2 separate regions of the Homo sapiens genome follow, and region 2 is linked to region 1. The links are contacts of gene promoters, found by promoter capture Hi-C in human tissues and cell types (Jung and others, 2019). All regions are on one chromosome and are shown on one strand. The core of a region is centred on a gene start or on the middle of the fragment in contact, and the rest is flanking DNA. Distances in the headings are between cores, read along the strand shown.

Region 1 (5,846 bases), core at 2,312-4,811:
GCAGCATCTCTCCAAGGGAAAGTAATAGGAGAATTTTATGGAGCAATGGAGAGGCGAGAGGCTACATCATCCCATGTATAGGAGGGGTCCCAGTGGTACAGACGCAGTGAGTCATTATGCCAGCACATAAGTCATGTGTTATGGTAATGAAGCTATAGCTACTCCCCGGGTGGAGACTTTAGCATGGTAATGAGAAAAGTTCACTCAGGTTCATCTATAAGTTGCTGGGGTCTGTCAGGAGCTGGGGTTTTTTTTTGTTTTTGTTTTTGTTTTTTTGAGAGAGAGTCTCACTCTGTCGCCCAGGCTGGAGTGCAGTGGCGCAATCTCGGCTCACTGCAAGCTCTGCCTCCCAGGTTCACACTATTCTCCTGCCTCAGCCTCCTGAGTAGCTGAGACTACAGGCGCCTGCCACCACGCCCGGCTAATTTTTTTGTATTTTTAGTAGAGACAGGGTTTCACCGTGTTAGCAAGGATGGTCTCAATCTCCTGACCTTGTGATCCACCCGCCTCAGCCTCCCAAAGTGCTGGGATTACAGGTGTGAGCCACCACGCCCGGCCTGGGGCTGGTTTTAACTAACTAGGTGACTGCAATCCACACAGGGTTTAGGAAGAAACAGGCTGCAGGGCAGAAGGCTGTAAAACTGGCTGACTGCTCAAGTTGATTAAATTCCTATGATCCCTGGAGGCCCTCTCTGTCTACTTATAGCAGCAAGACCTTCTTTTAAAAAGAGCCCCAGAACCTGTAAAATTAACCTGTGCCAGCAGCTGTGCTTGCTTAGAGAGAAAAAGGCTAAATATCAGTAACCACAAAGGAGAACTTAGCTCAGCAGTGCTACCCAGGCCTGAATCCTTGCTTCATTACCATATTAAAATCTCCACCTAGAAGGGAGAAATACACTTGCTAGGCACATATAGTGCTGGGTACAAAAGAAACAATGAGACTGGCCAGGCGCGGTGGCTCACGTCTGTAATCCCAGCACTTTGGGAGGCCAAGGCGGGTGGATCACCTGAGGTCAGGAGTTCAAGACCCTCCTGACCAACATGGAGAAACCCCGTCTCTATTAAAAATACTAAATTAGCCAGGCATGTGGTACATGCCTGTAATCCCAGCTATTTGGGGGGCTGAGACAGGAGAACTGCTTGAACCTGGGAGGCGGAGGTTGCGGTGAGCCAAGATCAAGCCATTGCACTCCAGCCTGGGCAACAAGAGCAAAACTCCATCGCAAAAGAAAAAAAAAGAAAGAAAGAAAGAAAAAAGAATGAGACTGAGCACACTCCAGTTCTTCCCATAGGGCCCCACCTCTTTCCAGGATCTCTGCCCCACTACATGCCCTAAGAGACCTTAAAAATCCCTCTTCACCACACCCAGAGGAGGGTACTTTGAGCATGAGCTTTTCCTTCTCCATTCCTTCATCAACAAATAAAGTTTCTGCACTGCTTAACGAAACTTGGTCTCATTTTATTGGCATGAACACCACCAGGCAGGTAAAGGACCCACTGAAGTCAAACGACTTCCCTTGAGAGTTGGTAACAGTAGCATTACAAGTCAGTGGGAAAAATTAAACTAGTCAATGAATTGTGTTGGGACAATTGGCTAGGCAAATAAAAATAGTAAGTAAAATCACACAAAAAATAAAGAAACTTAAAAAACAAAGCTAAAAGGCTGGGTGCGGTGGCTCACGCCTGTAATCCCAGCTCTTTGGGAGGCCAAGGTGGGTGGATCACAAGGTCAGGAGTTCAAGACCAACCTAACCAAGATGGTGAAATCCCATCTCTACTTTAAAAAAAAAAAAAGCCAGATGTGGTGGCAGGCGCCTGTAATCTCAGATACTCGGGAGGCTGAGGCAGAGAATTGCTTGAACCCAGGAGGCAGAGGCTGCAGTGATCCAAGATTGTGCCACTGCACTCCAGCCTGGGTGACACAGAGTGAGACTCTGTCTCAAAAAAAAAAAAGAAAAAAACCATAAAGACTCTAAGAACCCTGGTGTAACCAAGAATTTCTTAAGACAACAAAATGAAAAGAGTGAATATATTTGAATACATCAATATGAAAAAAATCTCTGTCCAAAAGAAAAGCAAAAGAAAAAAACACCAAACACAAACCACTAATAGATGTGGAAATGTAATAGCCAACAGGAAGGATAGTTTGAAAGTCCACAGTAAAACTAAAAAGACATATTCCTTACGCTACAGGAATTTAACTTGTAAGAATCTGCCCTGAAAAACACTTGCACGGGTATTCAGACATTTACACAGGTATTTACTAAAATATTCTCTGTAATAACATAATACTGGATTTAACCTACTTGTCCATCAATATGGCTAAATAAAAGTAGCATTTTTATAGGATGAAATACCATACAGCACCTAAAAGGAACATACTAGATCCTTATGCATCACCATGACTGTTCCACTATTCACCAGGTGGCCAGGCTGTGCTGCCAAGATTAAAAGGCCATCCAAGGAAGGGATAGCACATGATTTGAGGTCGCTGAGGACAGATACCAACCACATCAGGCCCCAAGAGGTACAGCGTATACTTACAGCAAAAGGAGAAACAGGGAACAAGATCCAGCCTCCTGCAATGCAAAGAGCCCCCACACCCAGCAGATCCACTCCACAGCTATAGGGCTGGTGTGATGCACACACCCCACTTAGTAAGGAAGAAAGATCTCAATCCACCCTCCCCACTCCTATGGGGTGTGAAATACAGAAGGCTGAGAGAATGAATGAAGGCCACTGACTTAAGAGATTAAACACAACAAAGGAGTACACATGAAGCCTGAAACACTGAAAGACACAAGGCATTAAATGCAGCAGCACAGGCTGTGAGGGCTCTAACTCTGCAAGGAAATGTTCCAGGCTCAAGGTCACTCTTACATTCTTAACTTGGCAATGGGCTATTTAAAAAAAAAAAAAAGACATTAAAAACTGTCAATTCTTCTTGTCTCCCAGTTTAGATATTCCTTCTTTCATTAATTTAACAAACACCTTCTAGGAGCACCTACTATTTCCCATACACTAAGGTAACAGCAGTTAATAAAGCAAACAGAAAGCACTGCCCTGGCAAGGGGCTTATGGGAAGATAACCAATAAACAAATACATGCTATGTTAGACGGCGACAGGTGCCAGGAAGTGAAATAAGACAAGAAAAAGGGAGAAGTCTATGCCAGATGTTTTCAATGTCAGGAGACCTGGAGACTAAGATTTCCGGACGGTGGCTACTTTCACTTTTCTTCCACTTATCTAATTGTCTCTAATAAGTACGCTTTATTCGCATAATTGGGTGAAAAGATAAAGCCAGAAGAAACCGGGAATTTTCCAGATTCTCTGCCCCAGACGCCCGGGGGGCGAAGAGGTATGCCCTCGGCGCGGCCGGGCGGGATCCACGGCCAGACCCCCGCCCCGGGTGCAGCCTCCAGGCCCGGCCTCACCTGCCACTCTCGCACGCACAGCCGCCCCCGCTCCGCACCCCGCGCCCCGCCGGGCCGCTCACCGACTCCGCCGCCGAGAGACAATCATCCAAACGCCGCCACCGCAGCCGACCGCCCCGCGCCTACCTCCCAGCTTCCCCAGTTGCGCACGCGCGTCGCCTCCCCGGGCCCTCTGCGGCCTCTCTAGGAAACTGGGAGGGCCAACATCTCTGCTTCTCCCTGGGCCCAGGGCCGCTGGCGGCGGGCGGCGGGCGGCGGGCGGCGGGCGGCGGGCGGCGGGCGGCGGGGCTTGTCCAGCATCCTTCGCCTCCTTCCGCGGACACTTGTCTTCCACGCTCTGATGCCCAGGCGCGCTCCAGAACTCTATCGGCTTTGGCGTATTATCCTACATCCCTCCCATCGGTTCTGCACGGCTGCCCTGGAGGCCTCTTTTCCTTCAGGGAAGAAAGGGATCCAAAGCTAGCGGTGAAAATAGAGCCAGCGGCCTGGCGCGGTGGCTCACGCCTGTAATCCCAGAACTTTGGGAAGCCGAGGTGGGCGGATCACGAGGTCAGGAGATCGGTGGCTAACACGGTGAAACCCCGTGTCTACTAAAAATAAAAAAAAAGTAGCTGGGTGTGGTGGCGCGGCGCCTGTAATCGCAGCTACTTCGGCGGCTGAGGCAGGAGAATCGTTTGAACCTGGGAGGCGGAGGTTGCAGTGAGCCGAGATCGTGCCACTGCACTCCAGCCTGGGAGACAGAGCCAGACTCCGTCTCAAAAAACAAACAAACAAAAAAATAGGGCCAGCACATCCCCAAACATAAAACCCTTGAATGGAGAAATTCCCAAACAAGGCAATAAGCCCAGCACTGGCCGTGAGAGTTTATTATCCCCTTTTAAGTAAATGCTACAAGCCCTAGGCGCACTTTTGCAACTGTTCAAGGGTCATCAGGCTGCACATGACTGACCAAGACACTCAGTTGCCCACTTTGGATGGAGCTACAGCTTTGTGGGAAAAACAGATAATAGAAATTACACAAATACATCAATGTCAAGTGGTTACGAACACTGTTGAAATGTAACAGAGTTATTTAATTGACAGCGACTGATGATAATGCTTGTATTTTTTCTGGTACTTTTCTGTATACTTCCGGTAGCTCATAACACACTGGCTGCCATGCATTGATTTGAGTTGCCCAAGGAAATAGAGTCAGTAACTGGAATAGCCACTGAATCCAAATCTTTTGGTCTTTTCACTACTGTGCTTCATAAAAGCTCTCCCGTCCCACGTCCCTGTAGAGGGAGAGTTGGGGATAGCATGGCTCCTAGCTGAGATCCCAGAAGCTAGGGGTAGAAGGTTGTGGGCAGGATAGTGAGGAGGGCAAGATTCCAAGGAAAACTAAAATCCCTGCCCAGGAACGGTTACCACCTGGGAAAGCAGGAATGACCCAACGCATCAAGGCCCAGAGTGTACTCAAAGAACAACAGGTTAGGATGAGGGTCAAAACTCAGACCAGAAAGAGCATTAGCTGAGCTTGGTGGTGCACGCCTGTAGTCCTAGCTACTGTGGAGGCAGAGGCGGAAGGATCGCTTGGGCCGGGGAGGTCGAGGCTGCAGTGAGCTATGATTGGGGCAGTGTACTCCAGCTTGGGCGACAGAGCGAGACCCAAGGAAGGAAGGGAGGAAGGGAGGGAGGGAAGTGAGAAAGAGAGAAAAGGAATGAAAGAGAGAAGGAAGAAAGAGAGAGAACGAGAAAGAGCAGGCTGCTTCTTGGGCTACAACCTGGAGAGGCTGTGTAACATTATGAGTTGGAGAAGCAGGTACAAAATAGTAAAAACTTCTATAAAGTAGACTAACAGCATGTGGCAGAACAGTGGGTTTTTAAAGGTGGGAACAAGAGAACCAAACAATAGCAAAAATAGATTGATTAACATCAGGTTACTTTTCTTTTAAGGATTAAAGCAGAGGGGGCCTTCCTTATGCTGACTGGGGTTAACTGGGCCCTTTCTGAATGGTTGCTATGAATCTCCTGTTTGCAGGAAAAACTGGTCTGTTAGGGGATTCACATACTTCTATAAAATTTCAGTTTGATTATGTGGCATTTAGCATTAGGAATTCCTTCATTTATTTATTTATTTATTTTGAGACGGAGCCTCCCTCTGTCACCCAGGCTGGAGGGCAGTGGTGTGATCTCGGCTCACTGCAACCTCCGCCTCCCCTCCTGGGTTCAAGTGATTCTCCTGCCTCAGCCACCCAGTAATTGGGACCACAGACACAGGCCACCATCCCCAGCTAATTTTTGCATTTTTAGTAGAGCCAGGATTTGTCATGTCTGCCAGGCTGATCTCGAACTCCTGACCTCAGGTGATCTGCCCACCTCGGCCTCCCACAAGTGCTAGGATTACAGGTGTGAGCCACAGCGCCCAGCCT
Region 2 (6,037 bases), core at 204-2,703, 41 kb before region 1:
CTTTTCCCACCTTCATAACTTACACCTTATTAAGGTGTTATAAAATCCAAAGGGAGGGACTGAAACTGTCATTGCAAAATTATGACTGAGACAGTGAAAGAGATCTAACTTAACTAACTCCATCTTGCTTCTAACCTCCAAGCTGTCCTTGTTCATTCCTGGGCACAGGCTGAACTAACTTTGGGAGAAACTTACAGTTTATAGTTTAAATAAAGACAGTAACAGATCTTTCCCAAAGCAGATCTCCTTCTTGCCTGGAGACTAGATTGCCTTTGCGGGACTAACATTAGCCACAAGATTAGAAATTATGGTTTAGGAGTCATGCAGCTGGAGGTTACAAGATTCTGACCCTCCCTAAACTGCTCCTAAGATCAGTGCTTGAGGTATTTTGCAGCCCCTGCACTTGATGGATTAGCTGGCACAACCCAGATCAATAAACTGGCTCATCTGATCTTGTGGCCCGCCCCCACCCCTCCACCCCCTCCCCCCGAGGAGCTGACTCAGCACAAGACGACAGCTGTGACTCGCTATGATTTCATCTCTGACCAATCAGCACTCCTGGCTCACTGGCTTCCCCCAACCCACCAAGTTATCCTTAAAAACTTTGCTCCGCAAATGCTGGGGGAGACTGCTTTGAGTAATAATAAAACCCCAGTCTCCCACACAGCCGGCTCTGCGTGAATTACTCTTTCTCTATTGCAATTCCCATCTTGAATCAGCTCTGTCTAGGCAGCAGGCAAGGTGAACCTCTTGGGAGGTTATAAAAGTGTAGCATTTGGCCAGGTGCAGTGACTCATGCCTGTAATTCCAGTATTTTGGGAGGATAGTGAGAGTCTGTCTCAAAAAAAAAAAAAAAAAGCATTTTATAGGATGAAATACTCACACACCTAAAAGGAATGTACTAGAATTGTTATACATCAACATAACTGCTTTACTGTACACCAGGTGATAAGGCTCTGTAGCCAAAGTTACAAGGCAACTAGGTGTCACCCAAGGAAGAGACAGTGTATGACTTGAGGTCACTGAGAAAAGACACCACCCCCACCAAGCTCAAGAGGTACAATGTTTACTTATGGAGATGGAGGGTTCACAAGATCCAGCCACTTGCAATGTGTTGGTCCCTCGTGGCCAGCAGAACCACTCCACAGTCTACACAGGTGGTGTGTGTATACACGCTTCATATTGCAGTAGAAAGACCTTAACCCCTCCTCTGTGGGGTCTGAAATGAAGAAAGATAGGAACATGCATGACGGCTGCTGATTCATGCACTCAGAAACAGAACAAAGGAGGCCTGGCATGGTGGCTTGCACCTGTAATCCCAGCACTTTGGGAGGCTAAGGCTGGCACATTACCTGAGGTCAGGAGTTTGAGAACAGCCTGGCAAACATGGCGAAACCCCATCTCTATTAAAAATACAAAAATTAGCCAGGCGTGGAGACGTACAGCTGTAATCCCAGCTACTCAGGAGGCTGAGGCAGGAGAACCACTTGAACCCAGGAGGCAGAGGTTGCAGTGAGCCAAGATCGTGCCACTGCACTCCAGCCTGGGTGACAAAGCAAAACTCCATCTCAAAAACAAAAACAAAAACAAAACAAAACAAAACAAACAAAACAAAGGAGTACATCAAGTGCAGAAAAACAAGATAGTCCCTCACAAGATGTGACACCTACAGTCACAAGATGTTAAACCCAGCAAAGGTTGTGAGGACTCTTTCGCTCTTGTAAGGAAATGTCTCAGGCCCGAGGCCACTCTTTTTTCTCACTCTGTCATCCAGGCTGGAGTGCAGTAGCACGATCACAGCTCACTGCAGCCTCAAACTCCTGGGTTCAAGTGATCCTCCCACCTCAACCTCCTGAATAGCTGAGACTACAGACATGTGCCACCCTCACTCTGCCTGACTTTTTTTTAGCGATAGGGTCTCACTATGTTGCCCAGGCCAGTCTCAAACTCCTGGCTTCAAGAGAGCCTCCTGACTTGGCCTCCCAAAGCACTGGGATTACAGGCATGAGCCACAATGCCTGGCGTCCAAGGACACTCCTACACAGCCAAGTAAGGAGAGAGAAACTGTGCACGACTGCTTTTCCCAACAATAACAAAAATATGTGCTAAGTTTGAAAGCACATCCTAAATACGAATTGTGAAAACAAAACGTACAACCGTGTGTGTGTGTGACTGTATACGCATGTATGTGAATGTACCTATAACTACTCAAAGAAATTTTAAAAGCCTGGAAGGATTCACAAAAACTCTTACTGGTGGTGGGGGTAGGAAGGTAGAGAATTGCATTTAAAAGCAACTTTATATTTTTTTTGTCTTCTATTTCCTAAAAGAAAAGAAAATTGAAAAGCAATTATTAGAAAGCATAGTTATACTGTCATTTATGTCTTAAAGCAAATGAAAAGCAAAGCAGTTTACATATGCACATAAAAGCTCCTAAGCCTCACTACCAAAGTATTTTTAGCCATGATTTCCTCTGGGAGGTGGGATGAAAGGGCTCTCCTTCCTTATTTGCCTATGTTGCCTAAATTGTTACCCATTACATTTATAAACAGCAAAGTGATCAATAATTCTCTTAAGAAGCAAAGCAATTGAGTAGCAACTCGTAGGATTGAAGATGGCAGATGCACAGTAGAAGGGACAGCACATTCTTGAGGGGGGACTTGAGTACAAACCATGGCTTCAGCTCAAGCAACTACAAAAGGATGTTCTCCAGTTGAACAGATGTAAGGAGAAAAAAAAACAGGCAAGTGAGGTAGAGAACAAGAAGAGCAAAATGCTACCAAAACACAACATGCAAAACAAAAATAAAAAACCTATCCAGAAAGAAAACAGAAACAAAGAAAAGGAGTAGCCAGCAACAATGGAAGAAAAAAAATAAAAGTTGAAGAAAAAGAGAAATACAAGCAGTGCTGCCATTAATGTTCCACAGACACAGGATCAGCTGACTCTGTACAGATCACCTGCATCCAGAATTTCTCTAATATGACTCTTGGTTCAGTCTAGAGAGCAATCTCATCAGTATCTTCTTGTCCCTAAAAGCTTCTTTATCTAGAAGTAAAAGTACCCAGACATTATTGGTGGAAAAGATCCATCAGTAACAGCCATCAATCTACTCCAGGATCCAAATATGCCCATAAATAGCCACTGAACTGACAAACTAAAGACTCATGAGAGAAGAACTGGAGTGTCTACAAAAAGTGTGAGATGGACAACAGGTCTCAGAACTTGTTGCAAAGTGGCCCCACTACCCTGTGCACAAAGTCACAGATGAAGGTCATATCCCCTGAAAATGCTGACCCCTTCCATCTCCCACCACTGTGAAGCAAATGTAAAAGGAGTGACACTTATGAAATTAAAAGAGCCACCACCTTCTACATTTGCTCTGAACTAATACCTATCCAATGTCCTCTGCTCTCAGCAAGTGCTGCTAATACTGTCAAAAGAAATGACAGTAAACTAAGATGTAAAGAAGACTCACACTAGAAGGCATGCAATCATCCAGGGATAAAAAAGAAACTACAGCCCTACTCTATGGGCCAAGAAGAGGCAAGAAAAGAGCTACATTAGGGATCACACATGCTGAGGAAGCTGCTACAGTTCTGGCAGAGAACTGAAGCCTTGCTGTGAAAAAGGGGAGTGGAGTAAGAATAAGTATTCAAAGGAAAAAAAAAAGGGAAAATGAAAGAAGAAATAAAGTAAATAAATGAAGGCCTATAAAAGGAGACTCGAAGACTGAGAAGCAGTGGGAGCTTCAGGACCAAGAGGAGCAGGCTCCAGCCTCGGTGCGTGCCAGCAGCACAAAAGGGAAGGAGAAACACCTGATCAGGAGAAAGCTGAAAAACAGAAAAAGAAGAGAGACTTTCATGGCCAAACTTGCAGAACAGACAGAAGAGAAAGAAAACCAAAGTATGAAAAGAACCAAAATGCTGCTAAAGATGAAGATAAATCTGGCAATTAAGTTAAAGAGAAAGAAATTGAGGCCAGAGAGAAACACTTTTAAGAAATGTACCCAGTGAAAAATATAAATGGCACTGACCAATCTCAGGAAATTGACACCTACAGTCAAATTAGCTCCAAAAATAAGTCTCCAAGCAGGACTGTTCTGAAGCAGCTGCTGCACAAATGTCCAAAAGGGTCAGTGACTTTTTTTTCCCCCCTACAACAGCTAACTTCCAGATTTTTGGAGGAGGACGGGGGAACAAGGGTTTCACTATATTGCCCATGCTGGTCTTGAACTCCTGGGCTCACACAATTCTTCTGCCTCAGCCTTCTGAGTAGCTGGGATTACAGGCGCATGCCACCTTGCCTGGCAGTAATGTATTTGTAAAGAGGTGATGAGAAGACTGACAGAAAATTCAGGGCGAATGCCTGTGAATATAGTGAGGATTCCAGTCCTTGAGTCAAAGAAAGGTTAGCTCAGCCTCTGCAATCATGAACATGAATAAAGACCTCACGGGCCTCTCAAACTCTGAATGAAAGACCCAGAGCATAGTGAACATACAGCTACCTCAGCAGACAGCTGAGCCCGCCAATGAAATTCAGGTATCTTAATGCCACAGGCTTCTCCCAAGTCCCAACTAGCTTTTAAGCATAGAAGAAAAGCTTCATTTATCTTCTTGCTGAGATTATATCACAATTACACTCAGAACTGGGAAGGAACATGAGCTGGATCTTATTCTCAGGACTCTCCCCCCAGAGCTTTATACCTTAACCCAGTTTCATTCCCACAAAGAAAATGGCTTTGAAAAGAACAGGGAAACTTCCAACCAAGATCTTGATATTTTTCAAGGAGATTTTCTTCTGTTACATTGTTTCTTCACCTCATGGCCAATGTAATTTCTTTGTTTTCCTTTTAATGTCCCCATGAGCTAGTCTCTTATTTTTGTGTTTTCCTACCAGTGTAAGTGTATAGAAGGTATATAAACTGATATTAAGCAAACAGGTTTCCAAGATAATCACCACTTAAGAAAAAATGCAGGCCGGGCGCAGTGGCTCACACCTGTAATCCCAGCACTTTGGGAGGCTGAGGCGAGATCATCTGAGGTTGGGAGTTCGAGACCAGCCTGACCAACATGGAGAAACCCCGTCTCTACTAAAAATACAAAAATTAGCCGGCATGGTGCTGCATGCCTGTAATCCCAGCTACTCGGGAGGCTGAGGCAGGAGAATCGCTTGAACCCAGGAGGCGGAGGTTGCAGTGAGCCGAGATCATGCCACTGCACTCCAGCCTGGGCAACGAGAGTGAAACTCCACTTCACACACACACACACACACACACACACACACACACACAAAAAATGCTTTCAGTATATATTTAAAGCCTTAAAATAATATTTATATTCATTTACCAATTAAGAAATAAACTAATAATGGGAGTGCCCAAAATTTGATTTCTAAATACTATACTATTCTCCAATTAAAACAAACAACAACAACAACAAACAGGGATCCTTGGAGAAGTGACTGATGCCAGGCTGGGGAGGGAAAAATATAAGGGTTTTGGGTGCCAGAAAACAAAAACTAAGGAAGGACTAAAAAAAAAAAAAAAAATCGGGGCAAACAGACACAGCTCCCAATAGTCAAAGAGCTACAATAATTTCAGCAATAAAATAACAACAGTACTGCATTCTAGTGCAAAGAATAAAATAAGTATCCAAAGCACACAATAATATAACTGATTGAATAAATAAATAACAGGGGAGAAGGGATAACTCTTCCTCACAAAGATTCCAATTAATACTTTGAATGAATGAGAATTGTATGTAAGTATCCAATGAATGCCTAGAAGGAATGAAGGAAAGAGAAAGTCAAATCCCAACACCACAGTAGTCATTGCTGCAGGCAAGATCAATCAATGAATGCTACTTAGACCAAAGTTCAAAGAGAAACAGCATCTCATATGCAAAGTAGTAAACTATCTTCCCCCAAATAATTACTGATGACTAGGAGAAAGACAGTAAGGTTCCAGTGGTAAAACTTGACAGAAAACTTGAGATGCAACCAAATTGAGGGACTTTATAAAAATACAAATATAAGG

The links. The method cuts DNA at HindIII sites, captures the fragments that hold promoters and counts their contacts. A contact is called where the count stands out against the background at its distance.
Region 2: a contact is called between a fragment that was not itself captured here and the fragment with the promoter of ZNF852 in region 1, in 1 of the 25 tissues and cell types used here (pancreas).

Annotation. Positions count from the first base shown.
Region 1 is chr3:44,507,056-44,512,901 of GRCh38, forward strand. ZNF852 (zinc finger protein 852) reads right to left here and starts at 3,562. Exons shown (of 4, transcript NM_001423469.1): 1 at 3,498-3,562. RefSeq lists enhancers at 2,945-3,721, 3,722-4,498, 3,957-4,016 and silencers at 3,327-3,486, 3,497-3,556, 3,687-3,736. The HindIII fragment of the contact is 21,843 bases long and covers 1-5,846 here.
Region 2 is chr3:44,468,199-44,474,235 of GRCh38, forward strand. All of the region lies in intron 1 of ZNF445 (zinc finger protein 445), which reads right to left. Among named protein-coding and RNA genes, the nearest start is that of ZNF445, 6.5 kb to the right of the region's middle. The HindIII fragment of the contact is 4,733 bases long and covers 1-3,820 here.